2 separate regions of the Homo sapiens genome follow, and region 2 is linked to region 1. Evidence: promoter capture Hi-C in 16 types of primary human blood cells and fetal thymus (Javierre and others, 2016). All regions are on one chromosome and are shown on one strand. The core of a region is centred on a gene start or on the middle of the fragment in contact, and the rest is flanking DNA. Distances in the headings are between cores, read along the strand shown.

Region 1 (6,540 bases), core at 3,667-6,166:
ACCCAGAAGTGGACATTGCAGTGAGCCGGGATTGTGCCACTACACTCCAGCCTGGGAGATAGAAACACTGTCTCAAAAAAAAAAAAAAAAAAAAATTACGATCCAGAAATTACACGATTTGCCTAAGGTTATCATCCTAAGTAAAATACAATTATGAAAGTAAATAATAAAGATTTTGAGGTTATAAAGTGATACAGTAAAATCTCAAAGCCAAGTAGAAGTGTTTTGGGTTCTATTTTGGGGTTATCTATTCTCATGAGAAATTGAGAGCTGACAATTTGAGAGTAGCACAGTTATCCCAGGCCAGAAAGGAAGACCACACTAAGTACTCAGTTCCCATTTTTCACAGTCTTCATTCCAAATCCTTGATTATAGAGGACTGATAGAAATCTTTACAGAAGCTCTTGGGAATGACTTAGAAAGGTGGCAGAGAGAGTGAGCTATGTTCCCACGAATTTCAGGACTATCCAGGGTCCCAAAGAGTATATACATTTTATCACTGGCTACCTTGAGAAATGACAGTACCTTGGACAAAAACACTACTTGCAATTCCTTTCTAAGAGCAGGAGCTAGCAAACAAGTGCTTAAGGACAGGGTTCAAGGGTACTAAGTAACATGGAAATATTCGATTCTTCCTTCTTAATGTTTAATCCATATTTTCTTTCTTTTTTTTTTTGAGACGTACTTTCGCTCTTGTTGCCCAGGCTAGAGTGCAATGGCACGATCTTGGCTTACTGCAACCTCTGCCTCCCGAGTTCAAGCAATTCTCCCGCCTCAGCCTCCCTAGTAGCTAGGATTACAGGGACCCGCCATCACACCCAGCTAATTTTTTGTATTTTTAGTACAGACGGGGTTTCACTATGTCGGCCAGGCTGGTCTCCAACTCCTGACCTCAGGCGATCCACCTGCCTCAGCCTCCCAGAGTGCTGGGATTACAGGCATGAGCCACCGCGCCTGGCTCTAATCCATATTTTCTAAGTGTTTATTCACATCACCATGAGAGAAAATTTTTTTTTGTCTTTGAAGACAAGGTACTTCAGTGAGCTCATTCCCAACCCAATGTCTAATTTATAAGGAGGTGTTAGAGTGTAGGGAATTCTTCCTGCTTTCATGTTTTTCTCAGTATCTCCTACCATTCTAACTTTCATGAACCCAAGCTTTTCAAGTGTCTTTCATTCTCACTTTTTAAAACACCTGCCATTTAAATTTTCAAGTAATAAGGACTTTTAGACTCCAAATTTCAGTTTGCTTTTAAGTTTGCTAATATAAATCTACTACTTTTGAATGCAAGAAAGATAATGTTCCATTACTATACTGTATATAAGTTCTCAAAAATAGCAAAATCTCCAATTCCATTCTTTCCTAGATGTACTCTAATTCCAATTGTGGATTTGTTCTAGAATTGGACCCCCTGTTATAGAGACCCCCATCTCTACAAAAAAAAAAAAAACTTGTTTTATTAGCTGTCTATGGTGGCATGCACCTGTGGTCCCAGCTACTCAGGAGGCTGAGGTGGGAGGATCACTTGAGCCCAGGAGTCAGAGGCTGCAGTGAGCTGTGATCACGCCACTGTACTCCAGGCTTGGTGACAGAGCAAGACCCTGTCTCAAAAATGAATAAACATTTAAAAATAAATATGCATGAGTGACTTTTCAGGCATCAGAAAGGCACTTTTCCTATTTCTAAGTTAGTGGTCTCTCTGATCCTGTGTTTTCTGAACACCGACCTCTGCATTTCAACTTCTAACATCAGATGACATTGCATCCCCATTCCATTTCTCCTCTTATGGGAAAACTAGAAAATCAGTTCAGTGAAAGTAGCTTCTATTAGCATTGCTGGTTTATCTGGTAGGGTTTCCTCATGGTTGGCCTGTCAAACACTGTTGATTACTTTATTACAGGCCAGATATGATAACTGCCCTCAGCTGCTCCAGAAAATGGCATAGAAGTTAAGTAATTATTTGTCAAAGGTTTCACTGTCATAGCAACCAGGACTTTTGAGAGTCCTCTGTAAGTCTACCTTTCTCTGAAAACAAGTGTTTTTCTGATTGGAGTTCAGAAAACTCACACAAATCCACAGGTCACACCACAGCCGTATTTAAGCAGTACCCTCTCCAAAAGCTCATTCAAAGTATTTGTGCCCACGTTCAAAACACCCTCCCACAGTCCATCCAGTTCCACAGGTGGCAACTGCTCCCTTCCATTTTACCTTGACTTGATTTTGGCCTACTTGTCTTACCTTCCTCTGGGTCAACGTGAAAGTAATGAAGGTTTCTGCACAGAACACAATGATTTTCATGAAGCCTTTCTGACAGAATTTGGTTAACAGTACTGATTTTCCCCAGAGGTTACATTTGCTTTTGATAATGCCCCATTATAACTCCTGAGGTATTTATACAAAATAACCCCACAGGTGCAAGAAAAGTTGGTAAAAAGCACAGTCACAATACCCATAGTTATGGTATGATGCTGAATTATGAAGCCAAGACAAAGTTTTCTTCTTCTTTTTTTGTTTTTTGAAACAGAGTTTAGCTCTTGTCCAGGCTGGAGTGCAATGGCGCGATCTCGACTCACTGCAAATTTTGCCTCCCAGGTTCAAGCGATTCTCCTGCCTCAGCCTCCCAAGTAGCTGGGATTACAGGCGTGCACCACCATGCCCCGATAATTTTGTATTTTTAGTAGAGACGGGGTTTCATTATGTTGGTGAGGCTGGTCTCAAACTCCTGACCTCAGGTGATCCACCCACCTTGGTCTCTCAAAGTGCTAGGATTACAGGCATGAGCTACTGCGCCCGGCCCAAAGCTTTCTTCTTTAAACTGATTTCACCTGTTAACATTATTATACTTCCAATGTATCTTCTTATAAGGGCAAGGGGAAAAACCTGCTGCAAAGTCAAATGTAAATAGAAAATTAGTTTTTATCAAGCTAGGGACAAACTGACTTTGATGATTAGAATCAGGGACCATCTTTTAAAAATCACATAGTTCTAATTTTTAAGTTTTGGGTCAGAGGAGGCTTTCTAAAAAATTGCTAGTTCTACTACCAATGTGTTCTAGTATTACTATAGAAATCAGATAGCAATTGCCCTAGCAAATAAAAATAATAATGAGGGCTGGGTGTGGTGGCTCACACCTGTTATCCCAGCACTTTGGGAGGCCAAGGCAGGCAGATCATCTGAGGTCAGGAGTTCAAGACCAGCCTGGCCAACATGGTGAAACCCCTTCTCTACTAAACATACAAAAATTAGCTGGGCGTGGTGGTACATGCCTGTAGTCCCAGCTACTCAGGAGGTTGAGGCCAGAGAATCGCTTGAACCTGGGAGGCGGAGATTGCAGTGAGCCGAGATCGCACCACTGCACTCCAGTCTGGGTGACAGAGTGAGACTCCGTCTCGATAGATAGATAGATAGATAGATAGAGAATTAGACCCAGACCAATGATTATTCCATGGCAAAGTGGGAAAACCAGGTGGTAAGAGATAACCTCTCACAACAGAATCTTTATCTGTGAAATAAGGATTCGACCAACAGAACCGTCTGTTGAAAATTTCCTCTCTTGGTCCAGGCAGGTTCTCTAAACTCCCAATCCCAAAGCAGTTAATTTTTTCACGTTTCCTGTAAAATGGATGGCCTTAAAACTCTTTTGTTCTCTAGTGTAGCTTTCCAGAAGGAAATAAGTTTCCTTATCAAGAATGAATCTAGCTTCCCCGACTCAAAAACAACCATCTTCTCTATATTGCTCCATATCACAATAAATTTAAGTGCCTTCCTTTTCTAAATTAAATGCTGTTCCCTTCAACTTAAGGGCCACACACTAAGGGCTATTCCTTTAGAGGCTTTTGGGCCCCACAGATCACAAAGGTGGTGCCCTGCCCTAGTTCTTTCTGGACATTTAAAAGGACATCCACTTTCTTGCCCTCAGGATAACATTATGGGAACAATGAACATAAATAAGACAGTTAAATAAGCTTCCCTGATGCCTATCCAATACAGCTTTCAACTCTTCTATCCTGCCTTGTTCTTTAGATCGTGCTGTAGTCTGGAGGGTAAACTCTTCACACAACCATTCCCAAGCCCTCATGTCCCTGTCCACTCTTCCTCCCTCACCTTTTAAGTGTGATAGGGCCTTGATGGGAAGACCTCACTTCACCTTTTGTCTCAAGTCCATCTGCTTCCTTCCAGAGCTACAAATACAAAGGTAGGCCAGGGCCATTGAGACGTGGCCATAGGGCACATGGGAGCTGGCAGAGCCACTCGCACCTTCTGGGGTGTCCCTTCTTCCACCTGTCAACTGAACACCCGTTTCTTAAAGATTTATCCCCAAAAGTCCCATCTCATTCTGAAAGGGGACGAACCAGCTACCCCACGAGCCCTTTGTCTGAGCTTCTACACCTCACACATCCTCATCCACAAAGCGTCCATCCTCACACAGTCAGGTGGTCCGCTCGGCACAGGGCGGGGGAGACTAGGTTTTTGCATCTGGTAAAAGGATGGGTTATGTCTCAGGTTCTTCCAGGATCCCAAATCCTATAATTCTACCACCAAGCCTGCGGGTCCTATTTCTGCGGTGGAAAGGGCGAATCCCAAGGCGACCCTCCACTCCACGCGCCTGCAGGCAGTTGGAACAAGCCCCCTCCAACCCCGGCTCTGCGGGTCCACGCCTCCAACCTCCGGCGCCGGGCCGCGGAGAAGGCCCTGTCGGCGCCCGCTCCCGGCCGCGCCATGCCCTCTTTCGCCCTCACCCGCCACCGGTGGCCGCCTCTCACCTGGCACGCTGGCATCGCCCACTCCGCGCTGCACTGGAAACCATGGGTCCGACGGGGTCTCGGGGGCCACCCATCCGCCTTAAGGAAGGCTGGCGGGGATGCGCGGGCCCGGGAGTCCAGGGCGCCGCCACCGGGAACGCGCCGCCTGGTTTCTAAGGAACTGGGGGCTCTGGAAAGGGAGGGGCGGGACGGCAGGAGGACTGCGCATGCTCCATAACGGGGATGGGCCTGCGCTGGGAGGGGCCGTAGCCGGGAGCTGCGCATGCTCGCTTTTTGGGGGCGGAGCTTAAGCAGCCTGGCTAGGAGGCTCAGGTTATTCATTTCCGGCGGCGGAGGCGGCAGTTTCCTAAGCTTGGCTTCTCTCCGGTCCGCTGACCGGCGTCAGGGACCAGGTTTTGGTAGCTGTGGGTAGCCTCAGTTGTCCTGGAATGAAAGACGGTTTCGTGTTGGACAAGGACATATCTGCAGAAGGCCAGTTCTCTCGAACTCGTCGGACTTCCTGGCTCCCTGACCCCCAGTGACTCGTTTTTCCGTTTTCTCAGGTGCCTGTCTGGGCTCCTCTTCCTCTGGATGTTTTTTGATTGTTCCTTAAATATCAGTGCTCTTCAAGACTGTAACCTCAGTCCCCTTGGCCTCTTTACTGAAGCCTATGCCCCACCAAATAGCAAACTATCCGCTAGAGTAAGGAAGCCGTTAGACCTTAGAATAAAACTGCCTGTGTAGGAAATGTGATTGGGGTTTGTATCTGCATGGGGAGCCCCCGTCCCTGCTTGTCTGACCCTCCTGCTGAGTATCAAGATCCCCACTCAGCTGGCATTAGGATGATCTCCCAGCCATCATTCCAGAGCAGCCTGTGGTGACAGAATATGTCAGCTGACCTAAGCGTGAGGCAGTTCCTACTGAGATATGCTAACTAGCAGCAGAGCTATCCCTGCTTTGAGCGGAGACAGGACTCCTACCACCTCTGTGAGGAGCATGGAAGGCTTCCAAAGTGATGAGAAGTTGTAACCCCTAAACCCCCCCTCTTCTGATGGGATTTTATCCTTTCTCTCCTGGATCCTCTAGAGCCAGGCAGAAGGAAGGCAGAGTCAAAATGTGCCTGTTTGATCTGTTTCTTAGTCATTGTTCGGAGTTCCACTCTTCTTGAGTAGGATTTCTCAACAGTGGCACTATTGACATTTTGGACCTGATAATTCTTTGTTGGGCAGGGGTGGGGGGAGCTGTCTGCATTGTAGGATGTTTGGCAGCATCCCTGGCTCTACCCAGTAGATGCCAGTAGCACCCCAAGCCCAGTTGTGACTACCAAAAATATCTCCAGACATTGCCAAGTGTCTCCCTGGGAGCAAAATCATTCCCAGTTGAGAACCACTAGTCTAGGGGGAAATGAGCCTACTCTGGCTTTACTTATATAGAACCAGGACTTTATGCTTAATCTAAAACCCATATTTTCCCCTTTATGCTACCTCTTCCCTAAGAGCATTCTATAGAGTAATAGTCCTGTAAGATTCTGCTGAGTGACACAGTCTGTAGTAACTTAAGTTTGGAAAGTGCAGGGTTAAGCAACACATTTTAACACAGGATTGAGCTTTTAATTAGCTGGTGGCGATCACTGTGAACATCCATAAGACAGTTTTCCTAATTTACTGGACCACCTCCCAATTCCAGTGACTTTTTTACTGGCAAACCTCCCCTAATTTACTGGCAAACCTCCCAATTCCAGTGACTTTTAGCCACTGCCTGCCCCCTTCTGTTCTGTGTTATTTTGTGGTACTATTAT
Region 2 (5,754 bases), core at 1,880-4,379, 330 kb after region 1:
CAGGAGCTGATCGACCTCAAGATGATTCAGTGCAAGAGAGTTGTTAATGGTGAGTACAGATCTGGCTCCAGAATTATGCATATGCCCTGCTGGGCTCAAGCAGCACTACCACTGCCCTTGCCTGGGGTGACAGTGTCTTGCCTGGCTTCATTGAGTAATTCTATAGATCACATGCTCCCTTGAGAGCAGTCACTGATCTCCAGAGGCCATGACAAAAAGCCTGATGTGAAACAGGCTGAGAGTGCCTTTCACTCACAGGCTTGCTGGCATAGAAATCACCATGCATCATAGCATAGGAGGGACTCTAGGAGCCTTGGAGTCAGGATGGCTTTAGCATTGGCCCTGGCTTGGCCACTTGCTAGATGTGTGACCTTGGGCAGGCCATATGACCTCTGTCTGCCTTAGTTCCTTTATCTGTAAAATGAAATCATAGTCTTTGCTTTACTTCAATCATAGGGTTGGAGTGAGGACCAAATAAGATAAGGTACATGTAAGTACTGTGGACGCCCTATGCTCTGTGCAAATGTGATTGTGATGAATTGTAGTTTTGCTGATACTTTATTGATGAGGCTGATTCTGCTTTGATTAGAGTTGTGGTATATTCCTTGAGTTTTCTGATACATACGTATATGCTTGTGAAATCTTTTTTTTTTTGAGACGGAATCTCCCTCTGTTGCCTAGGCTTGAGTGCAACGGCGCGGTCTTGGTTCACTGCAACCTCTGCCTCCCAGGTTCAAGCAGTTCTCCTGCCTCAGCCTCCCGAGTAGCTGGGACTACAGGTGCCCGCCACCACACCCGGCTAATTTTTGTATTTTTAGTAGAGAAGGGGTTTCACCATGGCGGCCAGTCTGGTCTTGAACTCTTGACCTCGTGATCCGCCTGCCTTGGCCTCCCAAAGTGCTGGAATTACAGGTGTGAGCCACCATGCCTGGCCGAACTATTTTAAATGTGTATATTTTTTTCTGTGTGATAAAAAATTCAATATTATAGATCTGTGTAACCTAGAAAATGAAAATCCTCCATAATCCTACACCTAAAGAGGTAATCAGAGAGAGGAATAATGTATGTTTTTCTATACATATAGTAAATAATGTGTGTGTACAAAATATGACGTGTTTATATATATCCCTCTTCTAGGTTGAAGATAAGGAAAAAAAATGTATCTATATCTATATCTGTATCTATATCTATATCTATATTTATCTATCTCCCCACCCCATTTGATCATACAACACGTGTTGTTTTGCCATTTACTTATCTACTAGGTCATTTGCCCATGTCAGTACCTAGGGGCAACTATGTCAGAATTGATTTTACCAGAGCCTTAACAGGGGTTCCCAGTATTTTGCTGTTATAAACAGAGTTGCATTATAAACACACAAATATTTTGTGGTTCTTCTCTCATACTTCTTACTGCCAGTCATGAGCTGTCTCTGTCAGTGATCACTTTGATTACCTCTCTCAACATGTCATTGCCTTTATCCCACCCTAAAAACCTTCTCATCTGTTTAGTGCTGGATGATAATAAAACCATCCATGTATGGAAATACTTTAAGTGCATCAAAGATCTCATTTATTTCTCAAGACAGCCTTTGAGGTAGGCATATTCTCCCATCTGCCACGTTCAGTCTTTTTCATGTATAGTGATCTTTGAAAGCTAGTAATGGTAGCACCTATTGTGGAGCTTCTTTAGGAAGCTGACAGATAAAATACAGTTGCTTCTCATTATGCACCGTTGTTGTTTCTATAAAGTTGCTTTAAACATCAAATGAGCGGATACTGAACCATTGACCCTGGGGTAAACAAAGGGTTAGGTTTGTGCAAGCCTCTGGTCATATTTTCATCAACTTGTCAGTCCATAACTTTGTTTTATGTGTGTTTCTTTGTTTTTGTTTGGTTTCTTTTTTGTGACCAGGTCTCACTCTGTTGCTCAGGCTGGAGTGTACTGGTGTGACCATAGCTCGCTGCAGCCTCAAACTCCTGGGCTCAAATGATCATCCTGCCTCAGCCTTCCAAGTAGCTGGGATTTCAGGTGCACACCTCCATGCCCAGCCAATTTTTAAATTTTTTGTAGAGATGGGGGTCTTGCTATGTTCCCCAGCTGGTCTCAAACTCCTGGCCTCAAGTGATCCCCCTGCCTCAGCCTCCCAAAATACTGGGATTACAGGACTTAGCCATCACACTGGCCATGTGTTTCTGTTTAAAGGCATATTATTTAATATATACCATTGATTCACTTAACATTGAACCCACTAACATGGGTAATAGTGCTATAATTTCATGCCGAAACAAAGCTTATTCAAGATGTGTATTTTCTCTGTAAGTCCCATGACCGTTTTCTTGTGCTTAGGAACATTAGATAGCATTTCAGCAGTATGGTTGGGACCATTTTATTTTATTTATTTTATATTTTTTGAGATGGAATCTTACTCTGTAGCCCAAGCTAGAGTGCAGTGGCGTGATCTTGGCTCACTGCAACCTCCGCCTTCCCGGCTCAAGAGATTCTTGTGCCTCAGCCTTCCAAGTAGTGGGGACTACAGGTGTGTGCCACCACACCCAGCTAATTTTTTTTTTTGTATTTTAGTAGAGACTTGAGTTTCACCATGTTGCCCAGGGTGGTCTCGAACTCCCTAACCTCAGGTAACCCACCCGCCTCGGCCTCCCAAAGTGCTGGGATTACAGGTGTGAGCCACCGCACCCAGCCACTTGGGACCATTTTAAACAGTGAGATCACCAACAAAAAGCATAGACATGCAGAAATGTGGCATGAAATATACCACAAAAGGGACACTTGTTGACAGTATGAGAGCTGAAGGGAGAAGACAGAGCATCACCTTGTTTGACCTCAGCTGGGAACATGCACATCAGGCAACTCAAAACTTTCACCACTCTGTTCCTGTCCTTGGATGACCATGAAAACATCACAAGTATTGATTTTGGGGTCACAAATAAATGTTAGCAAATAGGCACATTTGCAAATATGCAACTATGAATAGTATAGGAGATTGATTGTTATATAGTAACCTTCCACTCATAGCACCTGTCTCACTGTAAGTAAATAGTAAATTTGCTGAACTTCAGAGTGATGTTTTCTGGGAAAATTTGGGCCAAATCTGAAACATAGACAAACTTCCATGTATGGACTTTTTTTTTTTTTTTGAGACAGAGCCTCCCTCTGTTGCCCAGGCTGGAGTGCAGTGGCGCGATCTCAGCTCACTGCAATCTCTGCCTCCCAGGTTCAAGAGATTGTGCTGCCTCAGCCTCTTGAGTAGCTGGTATTACAGGCACCCTCCACCACGCCCAGCTAATTTTTGTATTTTTAGTAGAGATGCGGTTTTGCCATGTTGTGTAGGCTGGTTTCAAACTCCTAACCTCACATGATCCACCTGCCTTGGCCTTCCAAAGTCCTAGGATTACAAGCGTGAGCCACTGCGCCCGGCTATGTATGTACATTTTGTTTCAACATTTTTTTTTTTTTCGAGACGGAGTCTTGCTCTGTCGCCCAGGCTGGAGTGCAATGGCGCGATCTCGGCTCGCTGCAACCTCCGCCTCCCAGATTCAAGCGATTCTCCTGCCTCAGCCTCTCGAGTAGCTAGGGTTACAGGCATACCCCACCACGCCTGGCTAATTTTTGTATTCTTATCAGAGACGGTGTTTCACCATGTTGGCCAGGCTGGTCTTGAACTCTTGACCTCATGATCCGCCCGCCTCGGCCTCCCAAGGTGCTGGGATTACAGGCGTAAGCCACCATACCCGGCCCGGTTTTAACATTTTAAACGTTGCAAAATGTTAACCACCATTCAGAAAAAGTGCATTAAACACAAACATGCAGTTTCACAAGTAATTGCAAAATGAACAACCATCACCCAGGTCAGGAAATAGACCATCCTCATCATCACAGAAGCCTCCCATGTGCATAGTTATTTTTGGTAAGAATGGTATACATTTAGGATCTCTTTCCCCTTGAAGCTTATACTCTGGCTGTGTTTTCTTCCAGGGCTTAGGCTAGCGTTGAACTTGCATCTTCATTGAGTGACCCTATGTGTTTGGGTTTTCTTGCAGAGGTGCTCAGCACAGTGGACTTTGTCGCCCCTGATGATCGAGTTGTCTTCCGCACCTGTGAAAGAGAGCAGAACAGGGTGGTCTTCCAGATGGTGAGAGACTCCATTGCTGCATGCCCTCCTGAGGCTCACCATCCCCTGGGATTTCCCAACTCATGCCCTGTGCCAGGCCAGTGTTGAATACCTGGGGTACATTGTACAACGATGGCTTCCTGAAGATTCTGCTTTAATGTTTTCCAAAGAGCCAGTCATGAGTAATTATACTATTGGAGACAGTTTATGGAAATCAAGCTATCACAGTCTTATATGTCTCTAGTCTCAAATTTAATTTACTTACTTGTAGGAATTGTCTGTTTGGCATGATTTCTCTATTTTTTTATCCCTAGCATTGATTACTCAGATCATAGTCTTTGTTTTTATGTAGTGTGTATATATTTCTCATAGAAAAATATTAGGATTTTTCAAGAGTAGTTAAGATTTGTATTTGAGTTGTGATGACTCTATAGTGCCCTTCTCTCGCTTTGGGCATTTCTTGGTGCTTTTTCAGAAACATCCTTAATGATGTTTAGGTTTCTAAAAAATTGTTAACAATGGGTAACCATGTGATAAAGCAAATCTAGCAAAATGTTAATTGTAGAATCTAAATGGTGAGTGTTTGAATGGTCACTATAAGTTAACAATGGGTAACCATGTGATAAAGCAAATCTAGCAAAATGTTAATTGTAGAATCTAAATGGTGAGTGTTTGAATGGTCACTATAAAATGTTTTCAAGTTTTTTATATGTTTGAGTGTAATCATAGTATAGATAACATTTTCTAGACCTTCCAAGTCCACCTTTTTCTGCTGGCAGTGAGCTAGTCTAGTGGGCTGGCTGTTTAAGAGAAAGCCAGCCTGACTCTGTTGTTGGTGTGTGGGGTGTGTGTGTGTATGTGTGTGCTGCATGGGTGTGTTTGTCAGTGCATGTGTATCTGTGTCAGGGCAGTGGTTGATGCAGCCTCTTGTGTTCCCAGGGGACTTCAGACGCAGAGCGAGCCCTTGCTGTGGCCAGGCTTGTGTAAGTTCATCCTCTGTCTTTAGCACTGCCTTTGCCTCTCCTTTGAGCTGTGAGGGTTTAATGTCCTGGTGACTTTGTAGGTGACTCACCCTTCTGCCTTCTAGCCCATTACCTTCTGTTTCCAGGTTAAGAGTGCCTGGTTTCCAGCCAGGTGCGGTGGCTCATGCCTGTAATCCCAGCATTTTGGGAGGCTGAGGCAGGTGGATCATGAGGTCAAGAGATCGAGACCATCTTGGCCAACATGGTGAAACCCTGTCTCTACTAAAAATACAAAAATTAGCTGGGTGTGGTGGCGCGTGCCTGTAGTCCCAGCTACTCAGGAGGCTGAGGCAGAAGAATCGCTTGAACCCGGGAGGCAGAGGTTGCAGTGAGCCGAGATTGCGCCATTGCACTCCAGCCTGGTGACCAAGCGAGACTCTGTCTTAAAAAAAAAAGAGTGTCTAGTTTCCTTCTCTTTGTGGCATCCAAGGGCTGGCCTGGGACTCATGTGTACCTACAGTGCCTAGATCTCAGAGACCCTCTATGCATATTGGGGGGAGCTGTTTTTTTGTATTTATTCGTGAAACTCCTTCCCAGGGACTCCCATGACTATGAGTCCTGAAGCTTTAAGTATCAAAGTATAGGTAAGACATATTGCT

What was found. The method cuts DNA at HindIII sites, captures the fragments that hold promoters and counts their contacts. A CHiCAGO score of 5 or more calls a contact.
Region 2: a contact is called between a fragment that was not itself captured here and the fragment with the promoter of GFOD2 in region 1, in 1 of 17 cell types (erythroblasts). The highest score is 5.1, in erythroblasts.

What each region holds. Positions count from the first base shown.
Region 1 is chr16:67,714,400-67,720,939 of GRCh38, forward strand. It overlaps GFOD2 (Gfo/Idh/MocA-like oxidoreductase domain containing 2), which reads right to left and starts at 4,917. Exons shown (of 3, transcript NM_030819.4): 1 at 4,764-4,917. RefSeq lists an enhancer at 4,235-4,314 and silencers at 4,675-4,724, 4,785-4,834. The HindIII fragment of the contact is 1,149 bases long and covers 3,964-5,112 here.
Region 2 is chr16:68,049,502-68,055,255 of GRCh38, forward strand. DUS2 (dihydrouridine synthase 2) reads left to right here. Exons shown (of 17, transcript NM_017803.5): 4 at 4-49; 5 at 4,063-4,154; 6 at 5,073-5,116. Among named protein-coding and RNA genes, the nearest start is that of DUS2, 29 kb to the left of the region's middle. The HindIII fragment of the contact is 1,675 bases long and covers 2,293-3,967 here.